Linked DNA regions of Homo sapiens: all the other regions are linked to region 1. The links are contacts of gene promoters, found by promoter capture Hi-C in blood cells and fetal thymus (Javierre and others, 2016). All regions are on one chromosome and are shown on one strand. Each heading gives the region's core, a stretch centred on a gene start or on the middle of the fragment in contact. The rest is flanking DNA. Distances are from core to core; before and after follow the strand shown. Region 1 holds the start of LCE5A (late cornified envelope 5A). Region 2 overlaps PGLYRP3 (peptidoglycan recognition protein 3). Region 3 has its middle 2.8 kb from the start of PRR9.

The links. Contacts are between HindIII fragments. The CHiCAGO score rates a contact against its expected background, and 5 or more counts as called.
Region 2: a contact is called between a fragment that was not itself captured here and the fragment with the promoter of LCE5A in region 1, in 1 of 17 cell types (megakaryocytes). The highest score is 5.3, in megakaryocytes.
Region 3: a fragment that was not itself captured here is called in contact with the fragment with the promoter of LCE5A in region 1 in 1 of 17 cell types (M2 macrophages); the score reaches 5.7 in M2 macrophages.

The regions. Positions count from the first base shown.
Region 1 is chr1:152,508,637-152,512,423 of GRCh38, forward strand. It overlaps LCE5A (late cornified envelope 5A), which reads left to right and starts at 2,167. Exons shown (of 2, transcript NM_178438.5): 1 at 2,167-2,362; 2 at 2,878-3,541. The coding sequence starts at 2,899. The coding sequence ends at 3,255. The HindIII fragment of the contact is 1,377 bases long and covers 2,149-3,525 here.
Region 2 is chr1:153,301,571-153,305,357 of GRCh38, forward strand. It overlaps PGLYRP3 (peptidoglycan recognition protein 3), which reads right to left. Exons shown (of 8, transcript NM_052891.3): 4 at 3,377-3,495; 5 at 2,287-2,439; 6 at 839-1,037. Among named protein-coding and RNA genes, the nearest start is that of PGLYRP3, 9.5 kb to the right of the region's middle. The HindIII fragment of the contact is 166 bases long and covers 1,782-1,947 here.
Region 3 is chr1:153,212,916-153,216,702 of GRCh38, forward strand. No RefSeq gene overlaps it. Among named protein-coding and RNA genes, the nearest start is that of PRR9, 2.8 kb to the right of the region's middle. The HindIII fragment of the contact is 3,829 bases long and covers 1-3,752 here.

The sequences.
Region 1 (3,787 bases), core at 917-3,416:
GGATTCAAACCCAGAGACTGGATTTAGAACTCACGCTCCCAGCCGGGCACGGTGGCTCACACTTGTAATCCCAGCACTTTGGGAGGCCGAGGTGGGTGGATCACGAGGTCAGGAGATCAAGACCATCCTGGCTAACACAGTGAAACCCCGTCTCTACTAAAAATACAAAAAGTTAGCCGGGCGTGCGTGGTGGCAGGTGCCTGTAGTCCCAGCTACTTGGGAGGCTGAGGCAGAAGAATGGCGTGTATCCAGGTGGCAGAGCTTGCAGTGAGCAGAGATCGATCGCACCACTGCACTCGAGCCTGGGTGACAGAGCAAGACTCAGTCTCAAAAAAAAAAAAAAAGAACTCACGCTCCCAACCACTTATAAATAGATTCTGTGCCCTTCATGAAATGTTCTTATGGCTACCAAAAATAATGCTTCCAAACAACGAATAACATGGGAAATGTTGATGTTAAAATGTTAAGTGAAAAGTTAGTAAAGTAAACTCATGTAAGTACTATGAGAAAGACTATGTAAAATACAAACAAAACTCAAATAACAACAACAACAACAAAACCACTATATATAGAAAAAAATGACGGGAAGGAAAATAGCAAAATAGTAACCATATTTTAGGGATGGGATTATAGGTGATTTTAAAATTCTTCCTATTTTTTGGTGTTTTTAAATAATGAGTATGCTTTCTTTATAATCTCATTCCCTAGTGACAAGCAAATACTCTTAATATTTTGCTGTAAGAAAACATCGAGTCTAAGTTCTGATATCATAAAAATTAGTTTTGGTTTCAAAATTGGCAGGTCAGTAATTTGAAATTTAGCATATATTTTCTCATGGAAATAAGGATAGCCATAGTGATTAGTTTTTTCTTTTTTAAACTTGCAGTTCTAGGAACTGTGCTAAGAACTTCATCTGTATTTCTTTATTCAGTGGATTAGGAATGTTTTCAGCCCCCTTTTCCAGTGATGGTTAAGTAACTTGCCAGAGGTTGCACAGGTGGAGAGAGCAAGGGTGGGAACTGATGCTGGATGTCCCTCTCCAGGGTCTGTGTTATAACTGGGCTGATGCTTCTCACTGCAGCCCATTTCAAAGAGCATGGAGCTAAGGTACTGCCTTTTTCTCCCAGTCTTATTTTCTCTCACTGCAGCTTTCATTGTGAATATGCCATATTTTGGCCACCCTTTCCAGCTAAGTCAATTTTGATAACTATCCTGGGGACCCAACTTTCCCTCAGAATATTGTTTGCTGAGAAAATGTTTTGGATCCCACCATGGGCTTTTAAAACCTATATACTCCTCCTCTTCACCTCTCCATCCAAAGATTAATCTTCTCCTGAGGTCCTTCCCAGGTTGGATGCTCTTCTCTTATGAATGACCAGAACTGGTGCCTCACTTCTGGAAACCTCCAGATGAGTGGAGAGCTTTTGCTCCACCCTCAGTATACACCTGGTCTTTGCTGCCTCACCTCGAGCTGGCCAAGGGCACCTTCTTTAACACGAGTAAATAAGCCATTCCTAGACTTCTGCCCTTTTAAAGGCATTGTTAGTGCTGAATCGGTACTGTTTGTGAGCAGTTTTGGAGCATCAAATTCAGGCAAGGAGAGAAGCCCAACCACCCACACTGTCAGCATTAGATCTGCCTAAAATAACATCACTGAGATATCAAACCTTCCTTGTTCTGGTTATGGCATCATCTAGAAATGAAAAAAAAATCATGTTAGATTATTTGCTTGGGCCTACAATTTTATTTTGGATCTCTATTATTATTCTAAAAAGGGCCATTTAATTTCCATCTTGGGAATTTTCTCCTTCAGTTCCTATACCAAAGAGAAAACAGAACTTCTGTTCATTCCAGAGGTGTAGAGCCGTATTGGCCCAGCTCAGAAAATAGAAGGCATAGCAGAGCTGCCTGTGAGATAGATAGGTGCCATGTGCAATTCACAGAGCTCCCTCACCATCCTAGAGGCCTGCAGTTCTCAGGGGATCTTCCTGTGGGTTAATACTTGAGATGCTTATGCAGGGAGGAACTGGGTCCCTGGGATGCGAGGGGAGGGAGTCACCCATGCCTTTATGAAAGATGCTTCTAGCGTCCCGCACATGGTCTGCACCTCCTGATGCTAGGTCAGGACTGAATTGTATAAAAGGCAGAAGCTTCTGACAGCACCTCAGTCTACCTGTCTCCTGAGTGATCTGCTGCAGTGCCTGAACCAGGTAGAGTGCTTCTCAGGACCAGGATGAACTCTTGGTGCTGGTGTTTTGGGCAGAAAGAGCCCCTGGGTGGAGGTTGAGGCCATTCTTGAAGAAAGACAAGGATAAAGAAGGATTTTGGAGGGGAAGGTTCTTCTGGAAGGGGAGGGTGGAAGGTAGGTAAAAGGAATGAAGGACTGATGCCTTTCTGAAGTTCCAAGTTATTCATTTGAAAATATGGAGTTACTAGGTGGAAATCATTTGTATCATTCTTGTTACTGGTCTTGGGAGACTGGGTTTTTAAAATCTGGTTCATCTTAGGCCAGGAGTAGTGGCTCATGCCTGTAATCCCAGCACTTTGGGAGGCTGAGGTGGGCGGGTCAAGAGGTCAGGAGTTCGAGACTGACCAACATGCTGAAATCCCGTCTCTACTAAAAACACAAAAATTAGCTGGGTGTGGTGGTGCACACCTGTCTGAGGCAGGAGAATCACTTGAATCCGGGAGGTGGAGGTTGCAGTGAGCCGAGATAGCACCACTGCACTCCAGCCTGAGTGACAGAGTGAGACTCCATCCCAAATAATAATAATAATCATAATAATAAATTCTGGTCATCTTAGAGATAAAATCTTGTGAAATTATAGTTCAATTTTAAGGGCAAGGAAGTGACCTTGGGCTTGTATTGTCTTTCAGCTTTATTCAGCTTCTACAGAGATGTCCTGCCAGCAGAGCCAGCAGCAGTGCCAGCCTCCTCCCAAATGTACCCCTAAATGCCCTCCCAAGTGTACTCCTAAGTGTCCTCCCAAGTGTCCCCCAAAATGCCCTCCCCAGTGTTCAGCCCCATGCCCACCTCCAGTCTCTTCCTGCTGTGGTTCCAGCTCTGGGGGCTGCTGCAGCTCTGAGGGTGGTGGCTGCTGCCTGAGCCACCACAGGCCCCGCCAGTCCCTCCGACGCCGACCTCAGAGTTCCAGCTGCTGTGGCAGTGGCAGTGGCCAGCAGTCTGGGGGCTCCAGCTGCTGCCACAGCTCTGGGGGCTCTGGCTGCTGCCACAGCTCTGGAGGCTGCTGCTGACCTGGGCCATGAGGAGCACGGAGGAGAAGGACTGGCAGATCCCAGGTGCTGAAGATGTGTGTCAGCCTGAGGCTTCTTTTCTCTCATTTCCCATGGAAGGACTTCGGAAATGCCTTAAGTTCCCCTCTTTATCCTGCCCATGTTCACTCCATTGTAGGGTTGAAGTCTAGCTTGTGATATTTTCTGGCCTGGCTTTCCCTCTCAGACATAGCTCTTTGGAGAACTAGGTGTTGTAATTCAGTTATGAAGCTATTTTCTCTGTAACAATAAAGCTTTTTATTCCTGATATCACTGCCTCCTGATTTCATTGTTTGCCTCTCCCACTCCCTACCTGCTGCATCAAGCCATCTTCCCTTCCCTTCTCTTAAATGCAAGCGAACACTTTACAAACTTGTTTAGGAAGCACATTTTGGCAGTGAAGCTACTTAGGCCTCTGGAAAACAATATTTCCTTCTATGCACTGGATTCTGGAACTTTAAGCTTGAAGGAAAGAATAATGTCTGAGACCATTACGCCAGACACAAGATTGTAT
Region 2 (3,787 bases), core at 615-3,114, 790 kb after region 1:
AAAGCCTATGGAAAATCCTGCAAAGTGAAGCAAGAGTTCCCTCCTGTTTGCAAAGGCTGCTTTTAAAACAGGAGTTAAAAGGAGAGATAGTAGGCCCAGAACAACACATGTGCAAAAGCACATCTACCTGAGACTTTGTAAGATTTGTTGTGATTAAGTCACAGATGAATAATTGAAATACATTATACTCTAGCCCTAAATCCTTCCTTTGAAAATTCCAAGACATCTTCCAAGCAGCTTCTTCTACTCCATTAGTTTAATGTGTTTCTTTATTACAGACCTGGCATTAAAGGTACCAAAAGAAAATGTTTTGATCTTGCTCCCTGTCTTCAAACAGATAAAGCATTGTCCCTATTGTAGAGATGAGACAAAAGAGGCCCAGAGAGGTTAAAAGTTCCTACATCTATAAAATGAGGTAAGTAACACCAGAGGAATAGCAGGATTCTAACATCGGAGAGAGCAAGTTTGGAGCTGGGCAGACTGAGATAGGAGTGAGCAAGGCCTTTGTCTCTGACAGGTTAGAAGGGATTGCATTAAAAAGGTACAACCCTTCATGGCCTTCCCTGAGGGTATCACAGTCTTGCTTTATCACTAGGCTTCTAATGCCTTCTTTTCAGAATCTTCCCAACCACTTGTGGAGATACGTCCAAGCGAGGTAACTGACCATTAGCTATGCTCTGAATGATCCTCAGCCCAATCTTGCAAAAATAAAATATGATGCCTTATGGAAACCACCCAGCCCAAAGGAGAGGCTCAGGAAACATCAGTTCCCTCCCACAGCCTTCCTTCCTACAATCCTGAAGAAAAAGAGGGTTCTTTTGGCATTGATCCCACTTACTGATATCCAATGTCACAAAAGTTCCGTGTGTCCATGTGAAAGGACTGTATGTTTCGGACGACAGTCTGGCAGTCTGTGGATACAGTGCAGCTTGTGCCAGCGGTGTGGATGATGATGACATATTTGGCTGGGAGGTTCATTTTAGGGCAGTGTGTCTCTCTGGCTTCCCAAGCAGATCGTTTGATGATGTTGGGGCAAACTGTGGTAAAATGAAAAGCCAAGGAAGTAGGAATTTTTTTTGCCTCTCTGTGAGCAATCACTCAACTCCAGGCTGGATTATTCCTCAGCCTCTCCCAGGCCTCCAGCACCCACGGGCACATCCTAATGTAATATCAGCTTTGGGATTCTGGGGAAGTCCAGTTGGGAGGTTTCTGATTCAGATGGCTGGAGCCAAGGGGCTGAGGCAAAAATCTACAGGCCTGATACCAATAGAAATCAGCGTATAAGCAGAAGGGAAAGGGCTGTGGGTTATACAGAGGCATGGTCATTGTCTTCAAAAGACCATGCATTGCAAATATATATGCAGGTATGTGCGCTTATGTAACAGGGCTACTACGCGGAAGTCAGTGGACTCTCCGAACTGATCACACATATTTGGAAACAACTTGAAATCTAGAGAGAACTGTACAAATATTAAGAAATTATCATTATTGAAGATAGTGCCTGTCCAAAAGCAAGAAACATTTTATTTGAGATTTACAGTTTTAAAAAGCTAATTCTAAAAATATCATTGATCCCAAGAAAAGGTCCACTAGCAGGAGTGCTTATTAATTTGACTGGTTTTAGGTTGCTGCTTATTCACTTCAAAATAGTGCATTATTTTTATTACTCAGCTTTTTGTTATATGCACTCTGATGTCAGCATCATCTGTGAGCACAAGCTTTTCTCCGAGCTGTGGCTGTGCTGTGGCCATGGCTGGTTTTTGCATTTAGAAAGGTATGTAAGCTTATGTATGTCCTTCGTGTCCCCACATAATAGACACAACTATGTATACATGTTAATCCCACTCCATTCCCACTCTATTTTTCTCCATAGCTTTTATGCCGTCTAACATCATATACATTTCTTTGTTATTTTGTTCATTTTCTGTCTCTTCTCACTGAAGTGCAAGCTTCCTGAAGGTGAAGAGTTTCATCTGTTTTGTTCACAGCTGTATGCTCAGTACTTAGAACAGTGCCTGCTATGCAGTAAATATTTGTTGACTGACTGAAAATCTGTGTACATATGTATTTGTTTTAAGAAGAAGTCTATGGCTATCTCATTCTGATGGGATGGAGAGGAGGCCAGGAAGATGCCCTCTCAGAATTTTCCAGATCTCAAAGTAGGCATGAGATGTTCTTAGTCCCAGAATCCCATGGGGTCTAACAGGAAAAAGCACTCCCAAACATGACTCCAAACATGGCTAGGTGGTGACGAGGAGGAGGGTGAGGTGACATGGAGGGTCTTACCCTTCCTGGGCATCACTGGATGTTGAGGGTCCAGGCAGGTCTCTTCTTTCAGAAGAAGTGGCTGAATATACCTGGGCGACAGGTGACCCTTCTGGATGGCATAGGAGATCAGACCCTCTGCAGCTGATAAGGCAGCAGGGCTGGGACTGCTGCCTTAAAGAGGAGGACAGGGAGCACAAAAATGTCAGTAAGAAACTCCACCTAGACCAGACACCTGCAGAAAGGATGATATGACCACTTGAGCCTGAATAACTGGATTGGAAGAGAGGAAACTGGTCCAGTTGCCAGAACAGAGTGCCTAAGAGGCGAGAAGCTACCTAGATCTCTTAGCAGCCAAGGTTGAAAACTTCTTCCAAGAGCCAAGCTAAGACTTTATCCACTCCATCTCTAGGCAGAAGAGCTGGAAGGCAGTGAAGGATACATGCAAAGGGAGGCCCACCTGACCAAGTCAGGTGTGCACTAGCACAGGAGAAAAGGCAACCAGAATTTACTCATAGCTCCCCTGATCAGGTGTGCAGTAGGCTTTTTATATCTGTTAACTCATAACTCTCACAGAAAACCTCTGAGAGAAATGCTGTTACCTAGCCCCAGCTGTCAAATGAGGATGCTGGCAGGTGCTGGTTCCATATGTATTATTTCTCAGCTCCATCCCTGTTCTGTGCTTTTCTCTATTTTTCTAGGGGCTAGAAGCCTGCAAATTATACCTCCAGATTTCCTTGCCTGCTGCCTTCTGGTCACTTTCTACCAGTGGAACTGGAATAAGAGATGAGCCATGCTTCTCTGCCTCTGGCAGTCACAGCATCTATGTCAGACAACCTCAGACTTTAGAAGTGACAGCAATAACCGTGAGCTCAAGCAACGCCCATGCAAGCTTCAGCAATATCACAGGAGTACAGACCAGTAAAGAGAGGCAGAGGACAAAAAGTATGCATGTCACAGGATCCAAAGGAGAAAAGAATTTCAAGAGAAGGGTGATCATCAGAGAAGGTAAGTATGATGTAGGGTAAAAAGATGAGTGTTGACCCTTGGGAGTGGAGGAAGAGAGTGTACACAACTCTCCAGCACAGGGTCCGCAGGGAGTGACCCTTACCTATCTTATTGCCAAAGAAGGCGATGCCCAGGGAAATGTTGTTGTAGCCCTGGGTGTGCAAGCCTTGGATGTTCCAGCCAACACCTTCATACACCCTGCCATCATCCCCAACCAGGAAGCTGACAAGAAGGAAATAATGATTTTACTGCAAATCTCCATAAATGAAAACCTCTCACTGATCCTCAAAAGGAAAAGGGGTTCTGGAGGCTCATAAGTAAGTACTATGTTCCAATAACAAAACAATAGGAGGTGCAGAATAACCAGTTTTAGACCTCCAAGAGACATGGGAATATATTTTAATTTTTGTTGGGATTTAGCTTGCATGTGTTTTCCAGAACCTCACTTCAAAAATACTCATTTGGTTCAAAGTGGAATTTGACTGCATGACACTCAAGGACCTGAGGACATTAG
Region 3 (3,787 bases), core at 588-3,087, 700 kb after region 1:
CCCCACCTAGGAAAAGACAGGTCACCTAAGGTCAATCAGCCACTGGGTGAGCCACTGCCGCATGCAGAAGACAGAAGACTGGGTCTTCCTATGGGTACATTACAACCTGACCAAGGAAAAAGTGCCCACACACGTGTCCACACACTACAAAGTTACACAGTTACCCAGGCTACCCATTCGTGATCACATTTACAGTATCACAGAATGTCAGAGATGTGATGGACCTGACTGAAAGTCTAACTTTCCTATTTTAAAGATGATGAGGCCAGGCCACTTACTGAGCTGAGGAAGACTGTGGTAGGAGGAGTTTTTGAGGCAAGATCAGGAGTTTGGCTTTGGGCATGTATTAGATGTTCTATGACACACACACGTGGAGAGATAAATACATGGCAGAATTTGAACCTGTTTTAAAGAAAAATGTGCAGTGTCTCACGCCTGTAATCCCAGCACTTTGGGAGGCCAAGGGGGTGGATCACAAGATCAAGAGATCGAGACCAGCCTGAACAACATGGTGAAACACCGTCTCTACTAAAAACACAAAAATTACCTGGGTGTGGTGGCATGTGCCTGTAGTCTCAGCTACTTGGGAGGCTAAGGCAGGAGAATCGCTTGAACCTGGGAGGCAGAGGTTGCACTGCCCCGAGATCACGTGCCACTGCACACCAGCCTGGCCGACAGAGCAAGACTCCATCTCAAAAAAAAAAAAAAAAATTCAAGTCAAAGACCAAGTATTGGAGGGACAGAGCAAAGGACATAGAACAAGAAGAACCAGGGAAATCAAGGAAGGCTTCATGGAGGAGGTGAGTCCTGAACTGATTCAGATTGCACTAATATTCATAAGTAGCTTGATGGCCCTAAGTTTTGGAGCATACATTGTCTAATTTATTCCTCACAAGAAATCTGTGAAATAGTATTTTCCTTTCTCAACAAGAGGAAATTGAGATTATGAGAGGTTAAATCACTTATCCAATATTGCATATACTCTATGTGATAGTCAACCCCAGATGAATGGAATCCTGAGTTCTTTCTCCATATATCTCAGTCGCTCTTTTTTGTTGTTGTTTGTTTTGTTTTGCTTTGTTTTTTGAGATGGAGTCTCACTCTTTTTGCCCAGGCTGGAGTGCAATGGCACAACCTCAGCTCCCTGCAACCTCCACCTGCTGGGTTCAAGCGATTCTCCTGCCTCAGCCTCCCCATTAGCTAGGATTACAGGAGCCCGCCACCACGCCCGTCTAATTTTGTATTTTTAGTAGAGACGGGGTTTCACCATGTTGGCCAGGCTGGTCTCAAACTCCTGACCTCAAGTGATCCACCTGCCTCAGCCTCCCAAAGTGCTGGGATTATACGCGTGAGCCACCACGCCCAGCTCAGTGCCTCTTTATCAAAAGCTAGCCTTTGATTGAGGATGCTGACATGACAAGTAGGAATATATTTAAATGAGGGAATGGTAAATGAGATTTTATTCTTCATCTGAGGCTCCCTTCCTCAAGAGCTCCCAAGAGCCTCCAGCACTAGGAAGGTTATTAGGTTTCTACTGCTTCTGTGACAAGTTACCACAAATTTAGTGGCTTAAAACAACAAAAGTGAATCCTATGACAGTTCTGGAGCTCAGAGGCTGACAGAAGTCTCACCAGACTGAAATAGAGTGCCTGCAAAGCTGCACGTCTTTCCGGAGGTCCTACTGGAGAATCTGTTTCCAGACTGTAGAAGCCGCCCTCATTTCCGGCTCGTGGACTCCTTCCATATTCAAAATCAGCAATGGCCAGTTAAGTCTTTCTCAAATCACATCACTCTGACAGACTCTTCTTGCTTTTAAGAGCCGTACACTTATGTTGGCCCCACCTGGATAATCAAGGATAATCTCCCTATTTTAAAGTAGTCTGATTAGCAACTTTGATTTTATTCACTACTTTCAGTCTCTCTTGCCAAGTAACCTAACGTGTTTACAAATTCTAGCGATTAGGTGGCGAACATATCTAGGAGGCCATTATTCTGCCTACCACAGAAGGACTTTGGGGTCAATTTCAAGATTGTTCCACTGTCATGAATCAACTTGATGGCAGGCAGGGCATCCAGTGAGAGGAGTCAAACTCTGGGCTCTACCTAACTGGGCTCACCTCCCCTCCATGAGAACACGATCTAGTCTCTTGTTCTGCACATTTCTATTTAGTCTCCTTGTCCTGGGGCTTAACCAAAGTCACAGGCATACATGACATGAGCAAGGTCATCTCATGCATCCTGTCACAGGAAACTTCCAGAAATCCCAGCTAAGAAGGTCTCTTCCCGGATTCTCTTGCTCATTCCTTTCCTAAGCTGGCCTCCATCTATCCTTTCATTTCACTTGTATCTCTGTACTTCAACAGCCTCCCAACAAGGATTCTTTCCTAGAGGCCACCTGAAATGCCCTTGTCCACCGTCCTTGCCTGGGTAACTCATACTGTCCGGTAAGACAAAGCACAGACATCCCCTCCCCCAGGAGCCTTCCATGACCTTCCACCCAAAACCAAGGAAGAGGCCTTCTTCTGGAGCACAGGGGCTTACCTCTGGCCATATTCTCCATGGAACTGTGAGTCATTTTGGAAGGGAAATGCATCGACATCACATAGGGGCCATGAGTGACTGAAAGAACATATTATTAAAATCTGTGATGAATTCCTTGCTTTCTAGGACACAGGAGAGTTGCTTTGTCTCTTCAACAGCATTCTAAGAAAAGATGAAAAATACAAAGAGGAAGAGAATTGAAAGGAGGAGATGAAAAAGGAGGAGAAAAAGAAGGATGAGTCTCCCCACCCTACACCTACTCTCCCAGATGCCCCAAATGACTTTTTCTCTTCAGATATACACCTGGGTATTCCAAGTCCTTCCACTCTCAGGCCTCTGTCTACTGCCAGGACCTCAATGGGGCTCATGGTGATGTCACATTAACCTCTGAGAACCAGTCTCAAAGGTCAAAAATGCTTCCTGATCTCCCCAGCTTACCTTTTAAAAACTTTTCAGGTATCAAGCATCCAAAACCTATATAAACATTTGAGACATTTTTGATTTTAGCCAAATATTCTTCTTAGGAAATGACTTAAACCTACCCCTTCAAGTTAAGAGATTGAACATAACTTTTTTTTATACTTTAAGTTTTAGGGTACATGTGCACAACGTGCAGGTTAGTTACATATGTATACATGTGCCATGTTGGTGTGCTGCACCCAGTAACTCGTCATTTAACATTAGGTATATCTCCAAATGCTATCCCTCCCCTCTCCTCCCACCCCACAACAGGCCCCTGTGTGTGAGAACATAACTTTAAATTAAGGAGAAAGGAAGGGAACATCATCATATTTAAAGACCCTTGAATTTGGTCAACTTCAGCAAACACAGAACCACCATTTTAAGGAAATGGGGGCTTCTTTCAAAGTAAATCTTTTCCCATTTTCAATTAAATGAGATTTTCCTCTACTCCCAGCTCTCCCACATCCACCTTCTGTATTCCTTCATTAATACATTTACCCCATCAATAATCATTTGTCTTCCATCATCTTCCACTTACTATACCTATGGCATAGTACCTATCCTCTAGGAACTTATAACCCAGGAAAAAATAAGATCTATATATAAATATCTGGAAAGTCCTAATTTCAATAGTAAATGTCATATGAATAATATAAATAATAGATACCATGGGAGTGCATAAAGAGGTGGATTCATTTCTGGTTTAGAGTAATCAGGAAAGGCTCTCAGAGGGTGGTAGACATGAGTAAAGCTTTGCAGAATGCTTAGGATTCCCACAGGCACA